Linked DNA regions of Homo sapiens: region 1 is linked to region 2. The links are contacts of gene promoters, found by promoter capture Hi-C in blood cells and fetal thymus (Javierre and others, 2016). All regions are on one chromosome and are shown on one strand. The core of a region is centred on a gene start or on the middle of the fragment in contact, and the rest is flanking DNA. Distances in the headings are between cores, read along the strand shown.

Region 1 (4,993 bases), core at 2,285-4,784, 210 kb after region 2:
CCCTCCAGCCCTTTGCCAAATTTGAGCTACTTTGAATGTTTCTACAGTGTGTCGTGCTATTATTTGGCCTCCACTGGGTGTGACTGAATTACTTCCCTGTTAAATCCCACTCTGTTCCCTACTCATTAGCTCAGTGCTTCTCAGAATTTAATGTGCAGAGGATTCACCTGTGGGTCTTGTTGAACGGCAGATCCTTCAGTATGAAACGAATGCTTCAGTAGGTCTGGGGTGGAGTCTGAGATGCTGCGTTACCAGCAAGCTCCCAGTTGACAGTAGCAAGGCTTAGCTGTGATGCTCCAAGTAATACCACGTGGCACCAGAGTGGCCAAGGCGGGTGCTGGCACTGACATCTGGTGGTAGCACTTGATTGGAAAATGGTCAGTCAGATGGTCCAAAATGTGTCTAAATTAATTTTGACCATCAATATTTAGAAAAGTAAATTTAGCAAACTTGCTGAGTCTGGCCATTCCATTGCAGACTCCAGATTGAAAGCATTGCTAGAGAGTGTCGGGGCACCAGGTCTCCCCAGGCTTTGAGTGGGCATCTTTGGGTGCTGCAACTCCTCTCTCGGTTAATACAACCCAGTCTTTGTGCCCCTGGCATCTCATCACCTGCTTTCAGGAGTCAGGCCCCCCTGAATACTTTGTGATGGCGATTTAAAAAACAAGAAGGTGAGCGGGAGACCAGGTGGCTGCTCAGCATGTGGCGCATGGGGAAGTCCCGCCTTGAGCCGCATGCACTGATCCCGGGTTGGCACTGTTTGCACCAGTGTGGTTGTGCCCACGCTGGCTAGGGAAGTTTAGGATTCCACTTTGAAGCCAGACATGGCACGGGCTGTTGAGTAGGTTGTGGACACTTAGAAACTTTGAGAAGAGGTTATCTGATACCTTTGTCCAAAGAAGGGCAGGATGCTGTGAGAGATGCTTTACTCAGGAAGCCAACTTTGCTGGTCCAGTGAGTCCTTCTTCCAAGTTCGTCAGTTTATAAGCATGAAGCCCTACTTCCCTCTGGGAATTCTTGGAATTCATCATGTCCTGTCCTGGTTTTTTTGGTGATATGCTCGACTAGAGTAAACTTACAGATGTTTCAAAAGTAAAATCAATATGTAGCTTCCTTATATGGAAAAAGTTGTTATCTGAAAGGACACCTAATTAATCTCGAACCAGGTAAGCCATCTCCTCCTGTGCCCTAATTTTTGTATACTGGTAGGTTATTTGAAAATGAATGTTTTTTGGAACCACTAACACGTAAATGAATAAGATACGTTTACTGGATGTTTTTAAAACTTGCCTGCCAGAAAAGCTTAAATCCTATAGAGAGGGATGTAGTGGGGTGGGCAGGTTTGACAACTCTTGGAATTGTAGAGTCATAGAATGCTATTATAGAACTGAAAGAACTGCAGGTACCCTTTAATCTGTTGCAACTTTATATGAAGTAAAATTACTCTAATGTGATAACTCTTCCTAAGTGCTGAGATATTTTAACAAAGTTTTTGCCAGTTTGAGGCAGAATGAGAAAATAAAGACAGTTGCGATGAGCTTTTCATAAAGCTATGTGTATTCAGTTTGAAGACCTATTACTCTGAAATGACATATTTTCTAAATTTGAGGGGTTAAATGTCTGGTCTTTTATGAAATGATGGTAACAGTAGATAGCTGTTTTTTTTGTTTTGTTTTGTTTTGAGACAGTGCCTCACTATTTCGCCCAGGCTAGTCTTGAGCTCCTGACCTCAAGCAATCCTCCTGCCTCAGCCTCCCCAGTAACTGGGATTACAGGTGTGAGCTACTGTGCCTGGCAATAGTTGTGTTTTTTAAAATAAATACCTTTATTTTGCCCTGGCACGGTGGCTCATGCCTGTAATCCCAACACTTTGGGAGACTGAGGAGGGAGGATCAGCCAGGAGTTCAAGACCAGCCTGGGAAACATAGTGAGACCCCGTCTCTATAAAAAAATAGAAAAATTAGCTGGGCATGGTGGTGCACACCTGTAGTGCCAGCTACTCAGGAGGCTGAGTTACAAGTGTTGCTTGAGCTCAGGAGTTCAAGGCTGCAGGATTCTCACCACCGGTGCGGTGAGCCATGATTGCACCACTGCACTCCAGCCTGGGTGACAGAGTAAGACCCTGTCTGAAAAAATAAATTTTAAAACCATCTTTATGAAAAAAAAATTTGGCAACCCCGTATCTTTCCCTGTATCTGTCTCTGTAGAGGTGCGTCTTACTGGCCGTTAGGATGGAAATGTCTAGGAATCACTGAGCTTAGCATATCCACCCCGCAGCAGTGAATCTCAACTAGATGGAGTCCAGAGGGAAGATGGCAGATCCTCCCCTGCCTGGGATCCTGTCTGGAAGGACAGAGGAAGCATCAGCTGGAATGGCAGTGGTCTGGAGTTTTGAGTCTTGCAGCCGCCCTTGCTTAATCAGTTGACTCAGCTACACTGCCTTTGAGGGAGTCCCTTGAGAGGCCAGGGCACACAGTTTCCAGGGCTGGGGCCATTGTTCACAGACAGAGCCTTAAAGCAATGATTCCCAAAGTTTGTGGCTTGCTAGAATCACCCGGAAATCTTTTTAAATAAAATCCTGATGCCCAGATTCACCTATATTGTTAAATGAGAATGCCCGAGGGCCGGAGCCAGAGTCGGTAATCTGGGAATCTCTGCTTTGAGTGTGCAAGGCAGAGCTTCAGGCCTCAGAGTGGAACCACCGCACGCTTCCAAGAGACAGATGGTGTGAACCTATGGATTAAATAGAAAAAAAGATGTACAGTTTTCTGTTTTACAGTCTTGTTTTGGTTGTGCCTGCCCTACTAGTCCTGACAGTTTTATCTCCAAAGAATAGTGACCTGGCATCTGTCTGCAGGGACACAACACAAAAGGCCCTGTAACTTGTACAACAAATGCTCCAGATAACTGGAGACACCCAGGAACGGAAGTCACCATGAGGCTCCACTGCATTTGACTCTTCCTCCTGATTTCCTGCATGGAGGGTCAGGCTCAGAGCTGGTCACGCAGCCACTCTTGAGGTTACAAACTACAAAGCAGACATTTGCAGCCAGCACATACATGTCAGTTCAGGAAGAGATGGACACGGAATTGGGGAGACATGTACCGTGGCTACTCCTGTGTGTGTTGCTATCTCTGAACCTTGTTCCTCCCCTCCTCTTTGAAGGGACCCTACTTCAGGGACTTCCCCAGCACCCAGAGTCCTGAATTTTCAACAGCCTTCCCATGGCCCCACAGATGGGGATGTCCTGCTGCCTGTCCCTCTCCTGCCGGGGCCACTGTCCTCCCACTGATTCCTCTGTAGGGTAGGAAAGCCTCCTGCAGCCCCCAGCGGCCTGTGGTCAGTGATTGCTCCCGGCGGCCTTGAGCACCTTGAGGCCCTGACCGTCCTTGCCCCTGGAATTCTCCTGACCCCTGCTCTTCTGCCATGGTGCCGTGGTCTGGGCCTCCCTTTTCAGGCTCTGCCATGGTCCTGTTATGGTTTCAGTTTTCCCTGCTGCTCTCAGTCACGGGCTGAGCTTCGGTCCTTTTCCTGTCTCAGGTCCCCATCTCCAGCCCTGACCTCTCTCCAGACCTTCTTTCTCCCACTCGTGGTGTCCCTGTTCCTCAGCCCCTCCCAATGGGCCTCTGGTTCCTATACTCCTGTCTCCCTGATGGCTTCTTCGAATCATGCTGGTCCCTTATCAATAGCTTCTCTACCGCACTCCCTCCCCAGGCCTGTGGCTGCCACCCTCGTGGAAGCAGACTCTGTTCCTCCACCCAGGACCCAACCCTGCCAGCCCATTGCCTGGGGATCTGCTCACCCAGCTGCCTTCCAGATGTGCCCTCACTCCTCCCTGCAAACACAGAGCCTGGCCGGCCGCTGCCGCCACCCTGGGCCTCCCTCATGCTGTCCCTTTCTCTTGGTCATCCACAGCTTTTCCTTCCTGTATGCGATTTGTCTTTATATAAGAACAAGAAGTAAGATTTTTCTGGGAGCTTCTGTTCCCAATGTCTTTTTCCTCATGCTGAGCTCTTGTGTGCCATGTGGGCTGTTGCTTCTCATGTGCTCGCCTGTCCCTGCTGCATGGTCAGCCCGTGGGGGATGACGGCTGTCATCTCCGACTCCACAGTGTCATCTCTAGGGCCCTGCCTGTGTGGGGAAGGTTTGTAGCACCTGCCCATTTGCAGGTGGATTTTATATCATGGGTGGAGTTGTAAGTTTATACGGCAAGATAATTGGCTAGGGACTGGTGAACTGTCATTTCTGTTGAGCAGGAAAACCTGAGAGGCAGTAGTTCTTCTCCTGAAGCTATGGCCCAAGAAAGACCTTTTGTAATTGGAAACTTAATATAAAATGATAGTTTGCATCAGGTGGCATAGCATCTTTTTTTTTTTTTTTTCTTTGAGACAGGGTCTCATTCTGTGGCCTGGGCTGGAGTGCAGTGGCGTGATCATGGCTCACTGCCTCACAGGTTCAAGTAATCCTCCCAAGTAGCTGAGACTACAGGTGCACGCCACCATGCCTGGCTAATTTTTGTAGAGATGGGGTCTTGCTGTGTTGCCCAGGCTGATCTTGAACTCCTGGGCTCAAGCAATTTGCCTGCCTCGGTCTCCCAAAGTGCTGAGGTTACAGGTATGAGCCACTGCTCCCAGCCTCCTAGCATCCTGATGAAGAGCTTGTTCTTTACTAAATCTTGCTGATCCCCCCTCCCCTGATTTGTAGGAGGGCAATGATTTGTCTGCTGCATCGAGTTGTGCACATTAAATGAATTCATAAAACACTGATGTGTTAGCACAATTCCTTTTCAATACATGGCATCTTAATTTTTGTTCACCCATTGTAAAGGATGCCTCACACAGTTGTAGTAATGGGAACAAGAGCATTTCTGACCCTTGGCCTGAGAAACTAGAAGTGAAACTGACTTAGAGCATTTCAGTAGCCCAGAAAACACAATGAGCACCTACCATGCAGGGATTATAGTGGACCCTGGGGTTCCAGGGATGAATAAGA
Region 2 (4,817 bases), core at 121-2,620:
TTTTTTTGAATTGCCTACTTGTGCCTTTTGCCAATTTTTCTATTAGATTGTTTTTCCTTCTTCATTTGTTTACAGGCCTATCTGCCTCATCAGCCTGGGAGTTCCACAGAGACAAGAACTGTATTTCATTTCTTTCTCTATCCCCAGCCTAGTACAGTGTCTGGTATTTAGTTCATGAAATGTTTGTTAAAATTGAATGGAATGAGGCCAGGTGCAGTGGCTCACGCCTGTAATCCCACCATTTTGGAAGGCCAAGGCTGGTGGATCATTAGATGTCAGGAATTTGAGACCAGCCTGGCCAACATGGTGAAACCCTATCTCTACTAAAAATACAAAAATTAGCCGGGCCTGGTGGCAAGCACCTGTAATCCCAGCTACTTGGGAGGCTGAGGCAGGAGAATCACTTGAACTCAGGAGGCGGATGTTGCAGTGAGCTGAGATCGAGCCACTGCACTCCAGCCTGGGCAACAAAGCGAGACTCCATCTCAAAAAAAAAATAAAATAAAATAAAATTAAATAAAATGAGACAAGTTATCGCTATGTTGCCCAGGCTGCTGATACTGAACTCCTGGCCTTGAGTGACCCTTCTGCCTCGGCCTCCCAAAGTGCTGGGACTACAGGTGTGTCACCATATGGATAGGTTGGCCTTGAACTCCTGACCTCAAGTGATCCACCTTGGCCTTTCAAAGTGTTGGGATTACAGGCGTGAGCCACCACGCCTGGCCCCTTGTCTCAATTAATCAAAAAAAGGCCTAGGCAACAGAACAAGACTCTGGGGAAAAAAAAATATATATGTATATATATATGTGTATATATATGTATATATATGTATATATGTGTATATATGTGTATATATATGTGTATATATATATATGTGTATATATATATGAATGGAATGATATTCTCATAACCCCTTGGAAACATTATTACTTCTGTTTAACAGATGAGGAATATAAGACAGAAGCTGAGTAATTTGCAGCCACACACTGCTAAATGGTAGCATTGGGACTGTAATCCGGGCCTTCTGATTCTTTTTAATTATTTGTATTAATTTTAATTTTATTTTATTTTTAAAGAGATGGAGTTTCGCTATGTTGCCCAGGGTGGTCTGGAACTCTCAGGCTCAGGTGATCCTCCTGCCTGGGTCTCCCAAAGGGCTGGGATTTCAGGCGTGCGCCGCCATGCCCTGCCGCAGGCTTTCCGATTCTGAACCATAGAGTCAATGAAACTGTCCTCCATCCCCTCCAGAGATGTTTGCCTGGACCCTGTTTTCCTCAGGATATCAATGAATAGTTCATGAGTTTAGTGAGCAAAGGTCAACCTCCATCAGGCGCATGCGTCCCTTCCTTTTCCCATGGAGGAAGAGACGCCTCTTTTCCTTCCGCTTTGCTTGTCTTTTGGCCCCGGCGACTCACCATCGTCAGTGCGCAACCGTTCGCTAACTGAAATGATGGCGACTGGAACGCCAGAGTCTCAAGCGCGGTTCGGTCAGTCCGTGAAGGGGCTTCTCACGGAGAAGGTGACCACCTGTGGTACTGACGTAATCGCGCTCACCAAGCAGGTGCTGAAAGGCTCCCGGAGCTCCGAGGTGAGCTGGAAGTGGACTCTCCCGGCCTGATAGTCCGGGGAGTCGCAGTCTTTCGTTGCTGTGGGAAGGAGGTCGCGTTGCATCTTGGGAATTGTAGGCTGTGAAGTACTTGCTATGAGTAGGTCTTCTTCGCGGAGGCGCGTGTTGCATTCTGGGGTGTGCAGTCTCTTTGGTTAGGGACAGTGTGTGAGGGTTGGGGGAAGAAGCGATGCCATGGGAACCTGTGCTTTAAAACAGCTCTTTGGGAGGCCGAGGCGGGCGGATCACCTGAGGTCGGGAGTTCGAAACTAGCCTGACAATCATGGAGAAACCCCCGTCTCTACTAAAAAATAATAATTAAAAAAATATATAGCCGAGCGTGGTGGCACATGCCTGTAATCCCAGTTACTTGGGAGGCTGAGGCAGGAGAATTGCTTGAACCTGGGAGGCGAATTATATATATAAGTATTATATATTACGTATTATATAATATATATACGTATATATTATATATAATGTGTATGTATATATTACATATATAATATACATATATATTATATATAATATATGTAATATATATTATATATATTTTCAACTAGAGGTGTTTATAGTTAACCACCTGTAAATATTCAACATATTCATCATAATAAACGTACATTTATTTAGCATTTTATATATGCTAGACACTGTTGTCTTTTATGGAGTTTAATTCATGAAGTCTTTAGAATGACTAATTGAAGGAAGTACTTTTCCTTTTTTTTTTTTTTTTTTGAGACGGAGTCTAGCTCTGTCGCCAGGCTGGAGTGTAGTGGTGTGATCTTGGCTCACTGCAACTTCCGCCTCCTGGGTTCAAGTGATTCTCCCGCCTCAGCCTCCTGAGTAGCTGGGATTACAGGCACGCACCACCACACCTGGCTATTTTTGTATTCTTAGTAGAGATGAGGTTTCACCATGTTGGCCAGGCTGGTCTCGAACTCTTGACCTCATGATCTGCCTGCATCAGCCTTCCAAAGTGCTGGGATTACAGGCGTGAGCCACCGCTCCTGGCAGCATTGCTTCTTGAGCAGTCTCCACATAGCTATTTTGTTTGATTAGCTGAGAATTTCATGTGTAAAAAACTCATTCCACAGTATTCATTTAACAAATACTTATTGGGTGTCTGCTATGTGCCAGGAACTGCTCTAGGTACACGGAATAAACAAAACTAAATCCCTCTACTTGGGAAGTTTACATTTTAGTGAAGAGACAGACGATAAACAAGTGAAACAGAAAAAAATCAGGTGGTGGTAAATCCTGTGAAGCAAAATTAATCTGGGAATAGAGAGTGATGAAAGGGTTAATCTTTGTTTGTTTGTTTGTTTTGAGACAGAGGAGGAGTCCCACTAGCTCTGTCACCCAGGCTAAAGTGCAGTGGCCCGATCTCGGGCTCACTGCAACCTCTGCCTCCTGGGTTCAAGCGATTCTCCTGCCTCAGCCTCCTGAGTAGCTGGGATTATAGGCGCCTGCCACCACACCCAGCTAATTTTTGTGTTTTTAGTAGAGATGGGGTTTCACCATGTTGGCCAGGCTGGTCTCAAACTCCTGACCTCAAGTGATCCTTCCCGCTTTGGCCCCCTAAAGTGCTGGGATTACAGGCATGAGCCACCACACCCGGTCGAAAGGGTTAATCTTAAACAGATGATCAGGGAAGGGGTCTCTGGGGAGAGAGCCTGTGAGGAGAAACACACTGACATTTGCCCACAGCATAATGAGTGGTTATGACTCATAGGCTTGTCTCTTGCATGCCTGCGCTTCTCCTCCTCCATTTGAGTTGTGTGCTTAGTGAGGGTCCATTGTGTTTTTTTCTAAACATCATGTGTCTGTGGGCTGGGCGCAGTGGCTCATGCCTGTAATCCTAACACTTTGGGAGGCCGAGGCAGGATTGCTTAAGCCCAGGGGTTCGAGACCAGCCTGGGCCACATAGTGATATCTTGTCTCTGTAAAAAAAGGAAAAAAAAAAAGAATGAAAACAATTTTTTAAATGTGTGTATGGCACTTATGCTTACAGTTGCAACTACGTAATTTAATGAAATAATACGAAAAATGAAATATGAGTACCAAAAAAGAGGGTTGCTATTGCTATGAAAACTAAGTTGAAAATCAGAAACACTTGTTGAAGATGAGTAGCTAAGACAAATTGTTATTGAGTTAATTATGAACAAGTTAATGGTAAAAGCCTAGGAGAAAAATTTATAGAAATCTAAAAAGATTCTGTAGTGAAGATTGTTTTACAGGTGTATTCAAGATGTTCTTCCATTTTAAAGAAAGCAAAACTAGAAATCTCAGATGGTATGTTATGTGTCTGGTCTGTTTATGTAGGAAAGTGATGCAGAATGCCAATGAATATATCAAGGAAAAGCCTTGGCTTTACATTACAACAGCCCCTGCCTTCAAGGCAACCACAACTCCCATTGAGTCTGTTTTCTAAATGTCTCACAAATCCTTTGTTTCTTTTTTTCTTGGCTACTTCTGTGTTTCAGGCCATCCTCATTCCTTGCTTAGAGTACTGCTGTGTCATCCTAACCAATCTCTCTGCCTCATTCCCCACTCTAGTCCACCTGCTTACCACATTTCTAAAACAGAAAAATGGATCATGCCATTTTTCTCTAGAATTACACACAAAGATGAATTCTAAACCCTAACTTTTAAGTCTCAGATTAGAAGTCACTTCTTTTAGGGACCTTTCCTGAACACCTACCCCTGTAATCAGTTAGACACTCCTGCCCCACTACATGCTCCCGGAGCAGCCAATGCTTCCCCATCAGCACTTACCATAAGGTGATGTAAGTGCCTATGTTCCCTTTGTAACCCCTCCAGATTCTGAGCCCCGTTATCACTCTTAACCAGAGTAAGGGCATATGTTAAACACTCAACAAATGTTTATTAAATGAGTAAGTGAATGAAGTAGATTGTTGGAACCCTTTTTTTTCTGCCATCGGTTTGTAAGTCACCATCTCCCATCTATAGGAGTTTGAAGTTTACCCTTAAAAGTAGCCACAGGAGGAACAGGTACTCTCATAATTGTTGGTGGGAATGCAAAGTGGTACAGCCCTAAAGGAGAGGAATTTGGCAATATGTAGCAAAATTAAAACCCCACAGTCACAAATCACAGTCCTGTGAGTCCATCCCAAACATATGCTGGCAAAAAGATGCAAAGATAGGAGATATTTGTAACAGTAAAAGCTATGAGATAAGATCCAAGATTTGAGAA

Evidence for each region. The method cuts DNA at HindIII sites, captures the fragments that hold promoters and counts their contacts. A CHiCAGO score of 5 or more calls a contact.
Region 1: a contact is called between a fragment that was not itself captured here and the fragment with the promoter of BORCS7-ASMT in region 2, in 1 of 17 cell types (erythroblasts). The highest score is 5.9, in erythroblasts.

The regions. Positions count from the first base shown.
Region 1 is chr10:103,062,731-103,067,723 of GRCh38, forward strand. The region is part of intron 4 of CNNM2 (cyclin and CBS domain divalent metal cation transport mediator 2); the gene reads left to right. Among named protein-coding and RNA genes, the nearest start is that of NT5C2, 130 kb to the right of the region's middle. The HindIII fragment of the contact is 4,469 bases long and covers 1,301-4,993 here.
Region 2 is chr10:102,852,840-102,857,656 of GRCh38, forward strand. It overlaps BORCS7-ASMT (BORCS7-ASMT readthrough (NMD candidate)), which reads left to right and starts at 1,371. Exons shown (of 15, transcript NR_037644.1): 1 at 1,371-1,588. It overlaps BORCS7 (BLOC-1 related complex subunit 7), which reads left to right and starts at 1,420. Exons shown (of 5, transcript NM_001136200.2): 1 at 1,420-1,588. The coding sequence starts at 1,448. RefSeq lists enhancers at 940-1,453, 1,436-1,495, 1,454-1,966, 1,566-1,755, 2,763-3,735. The HindIII fragment of the contact is 18,616 bases long and covers 1-4,817 here.